2 separate regions of the Homo sapiens genome follow, and region 1 is linked to region 2. The links are contacts of gene promoters, found by promoter capture Hi-C in blood cells and fetal thymus (Javierre and others, 2016). All regions are on one chromosome and are shown on one strand. Each heading gives the region's core, a stretch centred on a gene start or on the middle of the fragment in contact. The rest is flanking DNA. Distances are from core to core; before and after follow the strand shown. Region 1 overlaps LYST (lysosomal trafficking regulator). Region 2 holds the start of B3GALNT2 (beta-1,3-N-acetylgalactosaminyltransferase 2).

What was found. Contacts are between HindIII fragments. The CHiCAGO score rates a contact against its expected background, and 5 or more counts as called.
Region 1: a fragment that was not itself captured here is called in contact with the fragment with the promoter of B3GALNT2 in region 2 in 1 of 17 cell types (megakaryocytes); the score reaches 5.1 in megakaryocytes.

Annotation. Positions count from the first base shown.
Region 1 is chr1:235,763,765-235,770,452 of GRCh38, reverse strand. It overlaps LYST (lysosomal trafficking regulator), which reads left to right. Exons shown (of 53, transcript NM_000081.4): 20 at 156-293; 21 at 4,176-4,374. Among named protein-coding and RNA genes, the nearest start is that of MIR1537, 86 kb to the left of the region's middle. RefSeq lists a silencer at 6,143-6,222 and an enhancer at 6,253-6,372. The HindIII fragment of the contact is 2,922 bases long and covers 3,539-6,460 here.
Region 2 is chr1:235,499,912-235,506,317 of GRCh38, reverse strand. It overlaps B3GALNT2 (beta-1,3-N-acetylgalactosaminyltransferase 2), which reads left to right and starts at 1,866. Exons shown (of 12, transcript NM_152490.5): 1 at 1,866-2,177. The coding sequence starts at 2,066. RefSeq lists enhancers at 1,268-1,387, 1,088-1,764 and a silencer at 1,698-2,337. The HindIII fragment of the contact is 19,953 bases long and covers 1-6,406 here.

The sequences.
Region 1 (6,688 bases), core at 3,750-6,249, 260 kb before region 2:
GGAATAAATTTTAACATTGGCTTTTTGCAGACATGTAATCTTTGATACTGAATATATACACAATGTTAAATTGTTGCGCGTTGTGTGTCTTCCAAAAAGCATGCTGCATATTTTTCAGTAAGTATGTGCTTATTGGTGTGTGTTTATCTCTTCAGCAAGGTGTTTGGGAAACTTTGCTAGCAGCTCTAGAAGTCCTCATCAGAGCAGATCACCACCAGCAGATGTTTAATATTAAGCAGTTATTGAAAGCTCAAGTGGTTCATCACTTTCTACTGACTTGTCAGGTTTTGCAGGTACTTTTCATGTAACTTTACTTTTGGAAATATATTCCACAGTTGTTTAATAATACTATGAACATCAAATTTTTGTGGCACTTTCAATGGGACTTTTTTTCTTTTTTTTTTCCATCTTCTCTCCAGATTCTCTTCTTTCAAAAAATAGTACAGGAGTTTTTCAACTGCTGCATCTTACAGCTTGATCATCACGCTGTCATAATTCCTAACTCAATTACAAAAGTACAATTACTAAATTTCTTAGATGTTTCTTTATGTTGGGATAGAATAATAGTTTTGTACTGCCTTGAACAGCAAGAATAGTTAATGAATTTTAACTTGTTCCATATTCCTTAAATAAATATTTACAAATATGTATTGCTTTAATAAATATAAACTTGCTAACGGTCTATTTTATATGCTAGAATTAGCATTTTAAACTGTATCCAAAATTTTTATTAAAAAGTGACACTAATTGTATCAGTTACATTGTAATGTCTATGCTGTGGCCCTTTTAGTTAATTTTTTTCTCTGCCTTTATTGATATCATCTAATACCAACCAAACAGATAAAAGGCATTGATAAATATCTGCTTGGTTGGTATATTAGACAATTTTCCAAGTTTTTTTTAATGTCTAAGGCATCGATTAGAACTTTGTCAAGTTAGATAAGTACAGATACTCCATGAGATCAGTAATATTTTATATTTTGAGCGCCTTTGCTTCGGTGGCACTAAGGGCTTTTCATTATAGTTGGGCTAAAATTCAAAATCTGTGACAACATCTGTAAGAAGTGTTAATATGAGAAGGCTTATATGATCTGGCTACCATTCTAGCTTCATCTTATGGTACTCAGCCTCCCTGGATTTCTTTCCCTTCCTTAAACAAGTAAGACTTTTTTCTGTCTCAGAGTACATGGTATTCTTTTTGCTTTAACAATTATTGATCCCATTCTTTTCATCTGGCCAACTCCTACTTATCCTCCACGTGGCAACTTAAGACTTACTTCCTGAGAGATACCTTCCCTGCCCTTTCCATATAAATTAGTCTTTTTCCCTTTATACACTATGTACATACAGTTTGTTAGTTATTTATGGAATTATGGTTTATTTCCCTCTGTAAGCCTCCTGAAAGCAGGGATATGGTTTTTGTTTTGTTTTGTTTTAAATCACACTGTAATGTCAGTACTTGACACACCTGGGCATCTGATAAATATTTGTTAAATGAATGAATTCCAAAAACACAAAAACATTTTATTGCCTTTCTTGGCCCCTGTGGTAAATTAGACTATTGTTGTAGGGAATAGAATATGTCGATTGATCCTTCAGGCCCCTTGCTTACTGAGTGTTTTATGCATCATTTATACATCAGTTTTCCTCAAAATTTTTTCCTTCGCATGTCCATTTTGAAATATATTGGCCAATTTTCATTAAGTTCATATGACAATGTGATATTCTTATTCAGTCTTTGCATGTCAGAAAAGTGGCACTTATAAACTTTGAGATTTCCATATATTTTTTCACTTTTGTATTATTTACAAAAATGCTAGAAAAAATCTAGGTACAAATTTTTTTCTTTACATGTATAGTTCTTTACCCTTGTTTGTTCAAAGAGCCCACTTATCAAATTAACAGCCATTTATTAAACATAGCTTTATGTCAGGTATTGTGGGAAGTTTATAAAGAAATGAACTTAGTCTTTGCCTTTAAGTTACCTCAGAGTGTTTGTGCACTTTAGGAAGATTAATAAATTGGTAGTATATTGGATGTAAGGCAGTTTCATTCATTTGTGAGTACAGCATAAAGAACCTGAACCCTGGTGATTAAAATGGGAGTGTTTAGTAGGGAGCAAATATGGGAGAGATTATAAGGATAGAATTCATAGGACTTGATTCTTTTTAAATGGAGCTTCAGGAGGAGTCAAATATAACATAAAATTTCAAGCCGGGAGACCAGAAAAACAATAATTTCATAAGAAAAAAAAGCAACCTTGTAAGTTTTGTAGTTTTTGTATCTACATTTGAAATTACAGCAGGATATTCAGCAACAGTGAACTGGTAATAGTGAAGCCATCAGGATAGAGAAGCACTCCAAGACAGAGAAACGTAGTGAGAGAATCAGAGGACTGAGGTTTACACCTCAGGAGATACCCATTTTCAGGATGTGAAACCAGAAAAAGGGGCTATTGAAAGAGATACAGAAAGAGTAATTGAAAAGCTAAGAGGAGACTCAGTAAAGTGAAAGCCAGAGGTCGGCAGAGGGGGAAGAACATGTAGAGAAGAAGATGATACCTTGAACCAAATGATATAGAAAGTTCAGAGAAAATGTAGGCAGATAAAGGGCCATTGACTCAGAAATTCTTAATGACTTACAAGATTTCAATAGCATGGATAAGGCAAGAGCCAGATTTCAGGGACTTTGGACAGCATGTGTGGCAGATCATTGAAGGCAGTGAGAACAAATGATTATTAAAAAGTCCAGCAGCAAAAGCAAAGACAGAAACAGAATGTTCATATAAGGTAAAGTTAAGGGATTAAAAAAATAATAAAATAGAATACCAGTGACTATTGATAAAGAGTCAGTGGAGAGGGCAAGATAGAAGTAACCTGGGCTGGACTTGGGAATGAATCACTGATGCTGCAACCAAGAAAGTTAAGAAGATACATGGAGTATGGTTTAGAAGAAATGCAGATGGTTGTAGCAGAAATAGTTCTGAATTGGAAGTCGGGAGATCTATGTTCCTGTCTTAGTCTTTGCCACTTGACAGCTATGAGAACTTGGCAAAGGAGTTTTGTGTTTTCTTCTGTAGACTCAGTGTTCCCTTCTTAAATCTGAGGTAGTCGAACTAAATTGTTTCAAAATTAACATCTACATTTTAAGTACTCCAATTCAGTAATACCCAAGAGTAAATGAAGAGTGGATGTAGAGATATATATTTGGACATATGAAGAGGGAAGATGAGGAATTTTACCTCCCATACCCTTAATCTGGAGGCCAGCTGCTACCCACTGGGGAGATGGAATTGGAGGATATAAGCAATTTATTTATATACAGCTTTATTTTTAGTAATTAGTTGGCATTTTGCCAAGCCTCATTATTCCAGACAGTAAATGGTGCAGTAGAAAGAGTTCAGAGGCCTGAGTTTGAGTTATAATTGTACTACCTACATATTTTATGTGTGGTTTACACTAGTCAAATAACCTCTTTGTGCCTCATATTCTAGAAATGAGGGCTAAAACCTCTCATAGAGCTGTTGTGAAAAAAAGCTTTGTAAACTGGAGCATATTGTATTAGTATAACGAGTTTTGTCCATCAAAAGTTTTCTGTCCTAATCCTATACTAATATTACTAATAGTAGTAGTAGTAAAAGGAGAAGAAAAGATAGTAGCAGTAGTAATAGTAGTGATTGTAGTTTATCACTAACATTTATATGGGGCTTACCTATATGCAAGGCACTATTCTAAGAGTTTATGTTATTTAGTCCTTATAACAACCCTATAAAGTAGCACTAGTATTACTCACATAGACAAAGAAAGTGAAGCATGCAGATGTTAAGTAACTTACCTAAGATCACATGGCTAGTGAGTGGAGAAACCAGAATGCAAACCTAGGAAGTCTGGCTTTTGAGACCACGCTTGTGAGAGTTATATAAGTTTGCCTCAGTTAATTAAGATACATGGGCTAGAATTAAGTTGCCATCTGTGTTAATGAATTTTTAATAACAAGATTGCTTGAATTAGGAAATAACTCAATTTAATGAGTTGTTATGGTAATGGTAAGTATGATCAGACTAGAGTAGTAAACCAACAGAATTCTATCTTAAAAAGAATATTTTGCCTAAATGAAAAATCTTAGTTAAGTTGACAATTCTTTAAATCTAAAGAGAGTTTTTTTTATTTTTTCAGGAATACAAAGAGGGGCAACTCACACCCATGCCCCGAGAGGTTTGTAGATCATTTGTGAAAATTATAGCAGAAGTCCTTGGATCTCCTCCAGATTTGGAATTATTGACAATTATCTTCAATTTCCTTTTAGCAGTTCACCCTCCTACTAATACTTACGTTTGTCACAATCCCACGAACTTCTACTTTTCTTTGCACATAGGTAGGTATAATCATTTTTGTTAGATCATGGCTATTTCCACTTTTGTTTTATTCTTCCCACTTGATTCACATTTGTTTGACATTTGAATGGCCTCTGTGCTGCTCTAATTACATATTGGGGTTGGGATAGGGCAGAGAGTTATAGAATGAACTAGACATGGCCTCTGTCCTCAAGGAGTCTAAATGCCAAGTGGAGAAAGGAGACATAGACTCAAATAACTACAGTAAAAAAAAAAAATGTGTATTTGGTAAGTATCAAAGAGACACAAAAGAAGAACTAATGAGATTTCAGTGGACAGAGGGTTTCATCCGACCACTGTGGAGAGAATATTTAATAGGTTACATGACATCTGATGTAGACATTGAAGATTTTGAGTAGAATTTGATAGGTAGATTGGAGAGTTAGTGTTCCAGGTAAAGACAATGACTTTAAAGGGAGGATAAAAGGAAATAGAAAATAAGGACTAATGAGTTTTACCTATATATAGGGGATCTGTAAAGGAATAGTGAGAAATAATGCCATAAATACAGTTTAAGACCACCATTTACTTATTTTTACCCTAAAGTCATATCAAATGGGTCCTTGAATGTAAGGCCAGAGAATTCGAACTTGTATTCTAGTTATAGGTCATTGAAAGGGTTTTATTTGTTTGTTTTGAGCAAAGGCTATAAGTAAATTATTGCAGTAGAATTCAGGAATAAGGAACTAGGGGCAGTAAGGCCAATTATAGTAGTCCGTGAGAGACAGGATAACAGAATCTGGGCATAGTAACAGTGGAACTGGAAAGGAGGGATAAATTGAGAAGTGGGAAGTTTAGGATGGAATGACTCTGGAGGTGTTAAGGAAAAAGGATAATGGCTTTGGTTGTATAATATATGTTGTATTTGAGGTGCCCTGCAGTTATTTATAATATAATTTTCTAGTAGGCAATTGGGAATGAGGGTTACAGCATGAAGAAGGAAGGGTAGGTTATAAGGAGCTGTCCACATAGAAGTGAGGTGAAGCTCTGAGAACAGATGAGACCACTGAAGAAAAGTAGAGCAAGAGAAGGAAAGAGAAAGCTAAGGAAAGAACTGCTGGTAGTATTACTAGTTGGAGGGTAGGACAAGAATGAAGAATCAGTAAAAGAGAAAGATGGAATAATCAGTTTTTTTTAAGAACCAGGGAAATGTAATGTAAGAAAGAAAGCAAGAATGTACCTACAAGAAAGCTGAGTCATAAATTTACATTGGAAAACTGGTTGTACAATAGCCATTTTAAGAGATGTAGTAAATGGGGCCAGGCACGGTGGCTCACGCCTGTAATCCCAGCACTTTGGGAAGCCGGGGCAGGCAGATTACCTGAGGTCAGGAGTTCAAGACCTGCCTGACCAACATGGCAAAACCCCATCTCTACTAAAAATAAAAAAAAAATTAGCCTGGCATGGTGGCACATGCCTGTAATCCCAGCTACTTGGGAGGCTGAGGCAGGAGAATGGCTTGAACCCGGGAAGCGGTGGTTGCAGTTAGGTGAGAATGTGCCATTGCACTCCAGCCTGGGTGACAAGAGCAAACCTCCATCTCAAAAAAAAAAAAAAAAAAAAAGAAAAGAAAAAAAAAGAAATGTAGTAAATGAATAAAATAAGCAGCAGTAAATGTCCAAATGAAATTAGATAGCATGACTTTGTGGTAGGCTTAGCACATTTCATGGAAAAAGGACTGTGGATAAAGATTCTGAGAGTGGGTTAGTTACAAAGATGGGTAAAATATGGTCCCCTCTCTTAAGACGTTTACAGCCTAGTTGAGGGAAAGAGGATAAAGAAACGATTATATCATGCCACGTGGAAAGCACAGTGATAAGGCAGTCAACATTTTTGTTTTCTGGTAGCATAGAGCATATGAAGACTGAGGGGGATTTCCCAGAGGAAGTGATGCCTGCCCTGAATCTTAAAGGATGAGTAAGAATCAAAGAGAAAAGGGCCTTCCAGGTAAAGGAAACAGCTTGACAGGGAACTAGGAGAAAGTGGTGTTGCTGAAATGTAATTTATGAAACAAGGCTTGGGAGGGACCTAGGGACAAATAGTGGTAATTCTTGTGGACAAGAAGCTTGGGTTTTATCCAAGGTGGTAAGGAGGCATAGAAAGCCACTGGAAGGTTTTAAGCAGGAGTTGACATTCGAGAGAGAGCGAATTCTGGTAGCTGTGAGGATTTGAGAGTAATGAGATGCTCATCAAGGATACCATTTAGAAATCTGTGATAGTAACCCAGTTGAGAGATGATAAAGCCTGCATTATAGCACTATGGTAGGGAAGAGAAGAGGTCAAGAAACAAAAAAT
Region 2 (6,406 bases), core at 617-3,116:
GACACTCAATAAGTATTTGTCGAATGACTAGCTCTGCTGAAATGAGGGATTAGTCCTCTTTTTAGGATAACTCATTCTAATTCACAAAATGAAAATTTTACAATATCAACAGAGGCCATTTACTACCTTTCCTGAGGATAAAAATAGTATACTTTTTCTGGCAACCAATTATTACTTTCTTGCCTTTTCTTTTTATTTTTTTTTTGTTTGTTTGTTTGTTTTTGAGACAGAGTCTCGTTCTGTCACCCAGGCTGGAGTGCAATGGCGCGATCTCGGCTCACTGCAACCTCCGCCTCCTGGGTTCAAGCGATCCTCCTGCCTCAGCCTCCTGAGTAGCTGGGACTACAGGTGCCCACCACTACGCCAGACTAATTTTTGTATTTTTAGTAGAGACAGGGTTTCACCATGTTACCCAGGCTAGTCTCGAACTCCTGCCCTCAAGTGATCCGCCCACCTCGGCCTCCCAAAGTGCTGGGATTACACGCATGAGCCACGGCGAGCCAAAGTACTTTTTTCCCTTAAGCCTGTTTGAGTTGGGTCTTCTGTCATCCAAGACTTTTTTTCAATAATACAGTCACCTTCTGTTTCCACACTTGTGGAAACTTAAAAAAAAAAAAAAAAAAACCGCGGCCGAGCGCGGTGGCTCACGCCTGTAATCCAAGCATTTTGGGAGGCCGAGGCGGGCGGATCACCTGAGGTCAGGAGCTGGAGACCAGCCTGGCCAACATGGCGAAACCTCGTCTCTACAAAAAAAATACAAAAATTAGCTGGGCGCAGTGGCGGGCGCCTGTAATCCCAGCCACTCAGGAGGCTGAGGCAGGAGAATCGCTTGAACCCAGGAGGCGGAGGTTGCAGCGAGCCGAGATCGCGCCATTGCACTACAGCTTGGGTGACAGAGTGAGACTCCGTCTCAAAAACAAAAGCAGAAACAAAAACCGCCCCATAGCCCAGCCGCTCGTTCTCATCCTTCTCTCCCATCCTCACCCCAGTGCCTTCACCGCCCCGTCCCCGCTTTCCGGCTGCCTCGGCGCGGGCCTGGTGGGCCAGGAGGGCTCCCACCCGGGGCAAAGCCTCAAGACGCGGGGCCGGCGTTCTCCCTGGAAGGCTCGCTGCGGCCACCCTTCCCCAGGTCCCCGGAGCCCACGTTCTCCCAGCTCGCCCGGCTCCCGTTTCGCTCCCAGCTCCAGTATGAACCCGGAGCACGTGCAGTTCTACCCTGATTGGCTCGTCATCATCGTGTTCCACAGCCTAGTCCCCAGCTCGCTGTCTGTCACCCTGCGTTCCCAGAGCACAGAACCGGGCAAAGAGCCGGGAACCCACGGCACCAGAGCTAATCCCTGATGAGTCACCGCTCCAGGCGCGGACACTCGGGCTTCCTCGCCCCACTCTACGGGCCAAGGAGACGTCAGCAGGATCCCACCTCCCACAGCAGTCGAGCAAGAGAGCACGCGGAACAAAGGAGCTCTGCGTGATTTCACACAAGAGCCACTCGGATTTCCTTCAAATCTGAGGCAAAGCGCATTTCCCTTCGCGGCTCCGGGCAGCCTCCGAGCACCGGGTCTCCGGCACTACCTCCCCTGGGCCGTGGGGTGGCAGCAAACGTCAAGGGGGATGCGCATGCTCTGTGTGGGGCCTCGCCCTTCGCCCCCGCGGCCGCCGAGTGACGGAAGCGCGTGCTTAGGCTCATGGGAAATGTGGTTTCTAAACCGCGGGCGCCCCCTGCCTGGGCCCAGAGCGGGACTTCAGCTCCCGGCCGGCTGGCTGGCGCGTGTGGAAACGCGGGAGGAGAGGGCGGGGCGAGTGGGAGAAAAGGTGGGCGGAGCCGGTGGGAAGGCCAGGCGGAGGGGGCGGGGCTTCGGCCGGCTAAGCCGCGGCCACCCGCGGTCTGAGGGACCGGAGGAGCGGGGCCGGGAGCTGCGAGGAGCCCCCCAGACGTCGCCGAGCGCGAGGGCGGGCGTGCTCGGAGTGGTCGCTCGTCAGCCGCCGCCCCTCAGTCTCCGCACTTGCAGGTCCCCTCCCTCTCCGCCGGGACGCGGGAGAGCCCGGCTCGCGGCGGGGGCGGCCAATGCGAAACTGGCTGGTGCTGCTGTGCCCGTGTGTGCTCGGGGCCGCGCTGCACCTCTGGCTGCGGCTGCGCTCCCCGCCGCCCGCCTGCGCCTCCGGGGCCGGCCCTGCAGGTGAGGTCCTGGGGCCGGGCGGGTTGGCGGCCGCCGGGGGGGTGGGAGGCCCGGCTTGGTGCCGCGGGGCTTCGCCGGGAATTGTTGGAGGCGGGGGAAGGGCCAAACGCGACGGTCCCCAGACGAAACAAACGGCTCTTTTCATCCTTGGAGCGTTAACATCGGGCAAACTTGAGGGAGCTTTTCTCTTTTCGTGTCCCCGCCTCTTCTCACTTCCCCGTTTCCCTTAACGCCCGCAGAGCCGGCGCCCGCAGTTGCAAGTCCTTCGCCTGTCCCCAGGCCTGGTTAGTGATGTCCGACGCCGCCCGTTCGCCCGGGAGCGGAACCTCGTGTGCCCTTCAGCCGCCAGCGCTTTCTGCTTTGGGAGCTCTGGCTCTGAAGTTGTTTTCTTCCCCCCCAAGTTGTTGGTCTTTCTCGGTCAAGACTGGGGTTTTAGTGCCGTGGATAATGTGTGTGCGTGTTTTCAAAGGTGGCTCGGTTTTGCTTTTAAGGAATAACTTTGCTGTAAGAATATACTGTAGTTCGTATTCTTGGATTATGATGTAAGTCGGTTAAACAAATCTAGACATGAAATAGGGCATGGCCGAGAGTTGGAGTTGTTCCTGTGAGTTTGGATCGCATAACCTGCTAATGCAGTTTACATGGAAATATCAAATTCTTTAACGATCGTGTCCATTTGCTCTAAAACTTAATCTCTCGTAGGAATGAAACCTTTGTTCTTGTTTCGCGTCACAGCCTAATAGAATGCTTTACTTACGGTGCCCAGCGGATTGTTTTGTTAGTGGGTTCCACCACCCTGAACACTACTTTAGCTTTCCCTGTATCTCTTGTCTTCTTCTTTAAGGGCTTGCCCTAGAACATGAAAGAAACCTAGAAAGCTCTTTTAAATATTATGTAATACTTAATTTTGTAACTATACTGGGACTTTTTTCCCTTACCATCTCTCCCCAAAACAGCTGTTTTCTAATCCAAAAGTTCTTAAAATTAGAATTGAGTGTTTGCAGTTCAGCACTCTATGCCTTATAAGTAGAAAGTATTCGGCAATCCTCAAAACAGTCTCAGTTATATGAAATTATGTTGAGGTTATTTTGGTAACAATCTCTTTTCCTATTAGATCACTAGCTCTTTGAAAAGGATTTGTGTGACCTGAATAGAATTAAACACTATTTAAGTGATTTAATGAAAGTACAGTGTTGCTATGCACTTAACCAGTTGATGGGGTCAGGGTTTTGCTCAGTGTTTTTTAGGTTTTTGTGAAGTGAACTAAGAAGAGAACGCCATATATAAAAAATGCTTTGTAACAGCTGCTTGTGTGTTACAGGTTTCTCTCTTTTGTTATGAGTGAGCCCTGCTGGAATCTCCTTGTAGAGCGTCATTAAGTCTGTTTATGGCCTTAATGGTTGTTTAGGGTTCAGTAAAACAAACAAAAACTGAAATGTTAGTAGACTTCAAACTGAAATCTTAGTAGACTTGCTAGGCAGTTTTCTAGTTTGAGACAAGTTTTTCCTACTCCCTTACTGCACTTGAAGGATGATGCCTTTATCTGCCATCCAGTAGTTAGACCAGGCTAGATTAAGGAAATGAAGAAGTAGACCATAGAAAGGAACAGGGTAATAACGTAGGTAAGAAGATCAATACTAGTTATGTTAATTAACTTTGGCTTTGAATGAGTACTGTGTATCTGGTCAGATAATAAATGGGATTTTTTTTTAAGTTCCGGGATACGTGTGCAGGACGTGCAAGTTTGTTACATAGGTAAACGTGTGCCATGGTGGTTTGCTGCAGCTGTCAACCATCGATATTTTAATAATCTAAGTTAAACATGACTGGCCCGGCGCGGTGCCTCACGCCTGTAATCCCAACACTTTGGGAGGCCGTGGTGGGTGGATCACCTGAGGTCAGGAGTTCAAGACCAGCCTGGCCAACATGGCGAAACCCCGTCTCTACTAAAAATACAAAAATTAGCCGGGCATAGTGGTGCATGCCTGTAATCCCAGCTACTAAGGAGGCTGAGGCAGGAGAATCACTTGAACCTCGGAGGCGGAGGTTGCAGTGAGACGAGATTGCGCCACTGCACTCCAGCCTGGGTGACAAGAGCGAAAGTCCATCTCAAAATAATTAATTAATTAATTAAACAAGACTGACTCCTACCTTTCCTTTTTTCCTTTTGGTACTTTCAAAGCTAAAAGCAGTGGAAGCATCTTAAATGCTAAAATTTCCCATAATTCCTTTACCATTGTGCTGTCACCATGTTGAAACTAAAATAGTTGGGTGTTTTTACATTTTAACCCTTGTACTTTAAGCCTAACAGGAGAAAAAAAAACCCAAGATTTTGCTAAGTATTCTTTTCTTGAATTAACATTTTTAAATGTATTTTTTTTTCTCTTCTGCTGCTTTGTCTGTCTTCAGTCTCATTAAGTAATGGCAGTTTCTTTGTTTTTTTTGAAAGAGCGATTTACCTTCCCTGAATATTAAAAAAGGTTCTTTGGCTCGCAGTTGATTCAGCAAATATTTGAGAGCCTACTCTGTGCCAGCTCCTATCGTAGGTGTGGAATTACAGCAGTAATCAAGCTAAACTTCCTGCCCTCATGTAGTTTACAATTTAGAAGGGAAGACAGAGCATCAGGAAATAATTATAAATATCACAGCGGTAGTGATAAGTATAGGGAAAAAAGATAAAGCAGTGTTAAGAGATTAAAGAGATGGTTTTAAATAGGTCAGGGAAGTCCATTCCATTCTGAAGAGGTAACAGTTGAGCAGGGACCAGAATGAAGTAAGTGAGTCACCTTAGTACCAGAGTCAGCAACTTTTTTAATGTGATAGGTTCCCTTAAACCAGTCAGGGAAAGCAACTGGTAAAGAGGAAGTGAAATCCAGTACACCTGAGGGTGACAGAGGAAAATGCAGGTGGAGATAACCATCGGACTAAGGAATCTAAACATAGGATATCTTGATTACAAAATGCTCGTTTTGGGTAATGCCTTAAGTAGGAATTATTTAACGGTTAATTTAGAAAAATGATGTGACAAAAGAAGGCTTCGCTTTCTAGGGTATCTGGAAAGAAAGAAACCAAAACAAAGGAGCATATTCACTCAACAAGTACTTGAGTGTTAGATTCTGTGCTGGATGCCTAGTCCCTTCTCCCAAGGTGCTCACAGTATCTAATGGAAACAGATGTAGAGCAAGTAGAAGGTCAGAAAACAAATTGAGCTTGCTTTGTAATTTTGCCTGGGGTGAGTTCTTCCAAAATTATCCCTATATGCTAATTGTGTCTCTGTGCTTCAGTTTCCTTATTTATAAGATGATGATCTCATAGACTTATTGTGAAGATTCAATTAATGAAACACCCGCAACAGTGCCTGTTTCATAGTAAACACTCCATGAGTTTGAGAGAGGAGTGGTAGTCTGGTGGCCGCTGATGCCTGTGCTAGTGTGGTGTTTTGGGAGGTGTCTTTGGTAGTGTGTATGATGATTGTCTTTATCATTAGATCTGTGACAGGCTCACATGTTTTCTTCATTTTCAAGATTTGTATCTATTTGTGACTCTTCCAAGAGCATGCATATCAGAGTGGAATTTTGGTGTGATTTTTAAGACTCTTGGGCTTATTTTGAGCAATCAATTTTGATGTCAACCTTCTTTAGACTTTTTTGATTATTATTTTGAGGCACAGTTTCACTCTGTCGCCCAGGCTGGAGTGCAGTGGCACCATCTTGACTAACTGCAACCTCTGCCTCCGGGTTGAAGCCATTCTCCTGCCTCAGCCTCTGTTACATGTGTGTGCCACCACACCCAGCTAATTTTTGTATTATTAGTAGAGACTGCGTTTTGCCATGTTGGCCAGGCTGGTCTCGAACTCCTGACCTCAAGCGATTCATTCACCTCGGCCTCCCAAAGTGCTAGGATTACAGGCATGAGCCACTGCGCCAGGCCCTCCCTTAGACTTTAATATACCTTTGGATGTCCACTCACAGTGCAGGGTTGAGCAGGTTGCCAGACTCTCAGGATATATTACATATTAAGAAAAGAAATAGTTCTTACTGTAGGGTCTCAGAAGAAAACAATACCCCAAAATAAGGCCTCAGAAGCAGCTGTCTCTGACCTGCTGCTGCTGTCCTCTCTCTGGCCTTGCATTCTCACCTGAGGCTAGCTGTAGAAACTAAAATCCCTCTTCCCCAAAGCCAGCCATAAAACCTAAACATATTACTCTAACTAGCCCCCACCACCTCCTT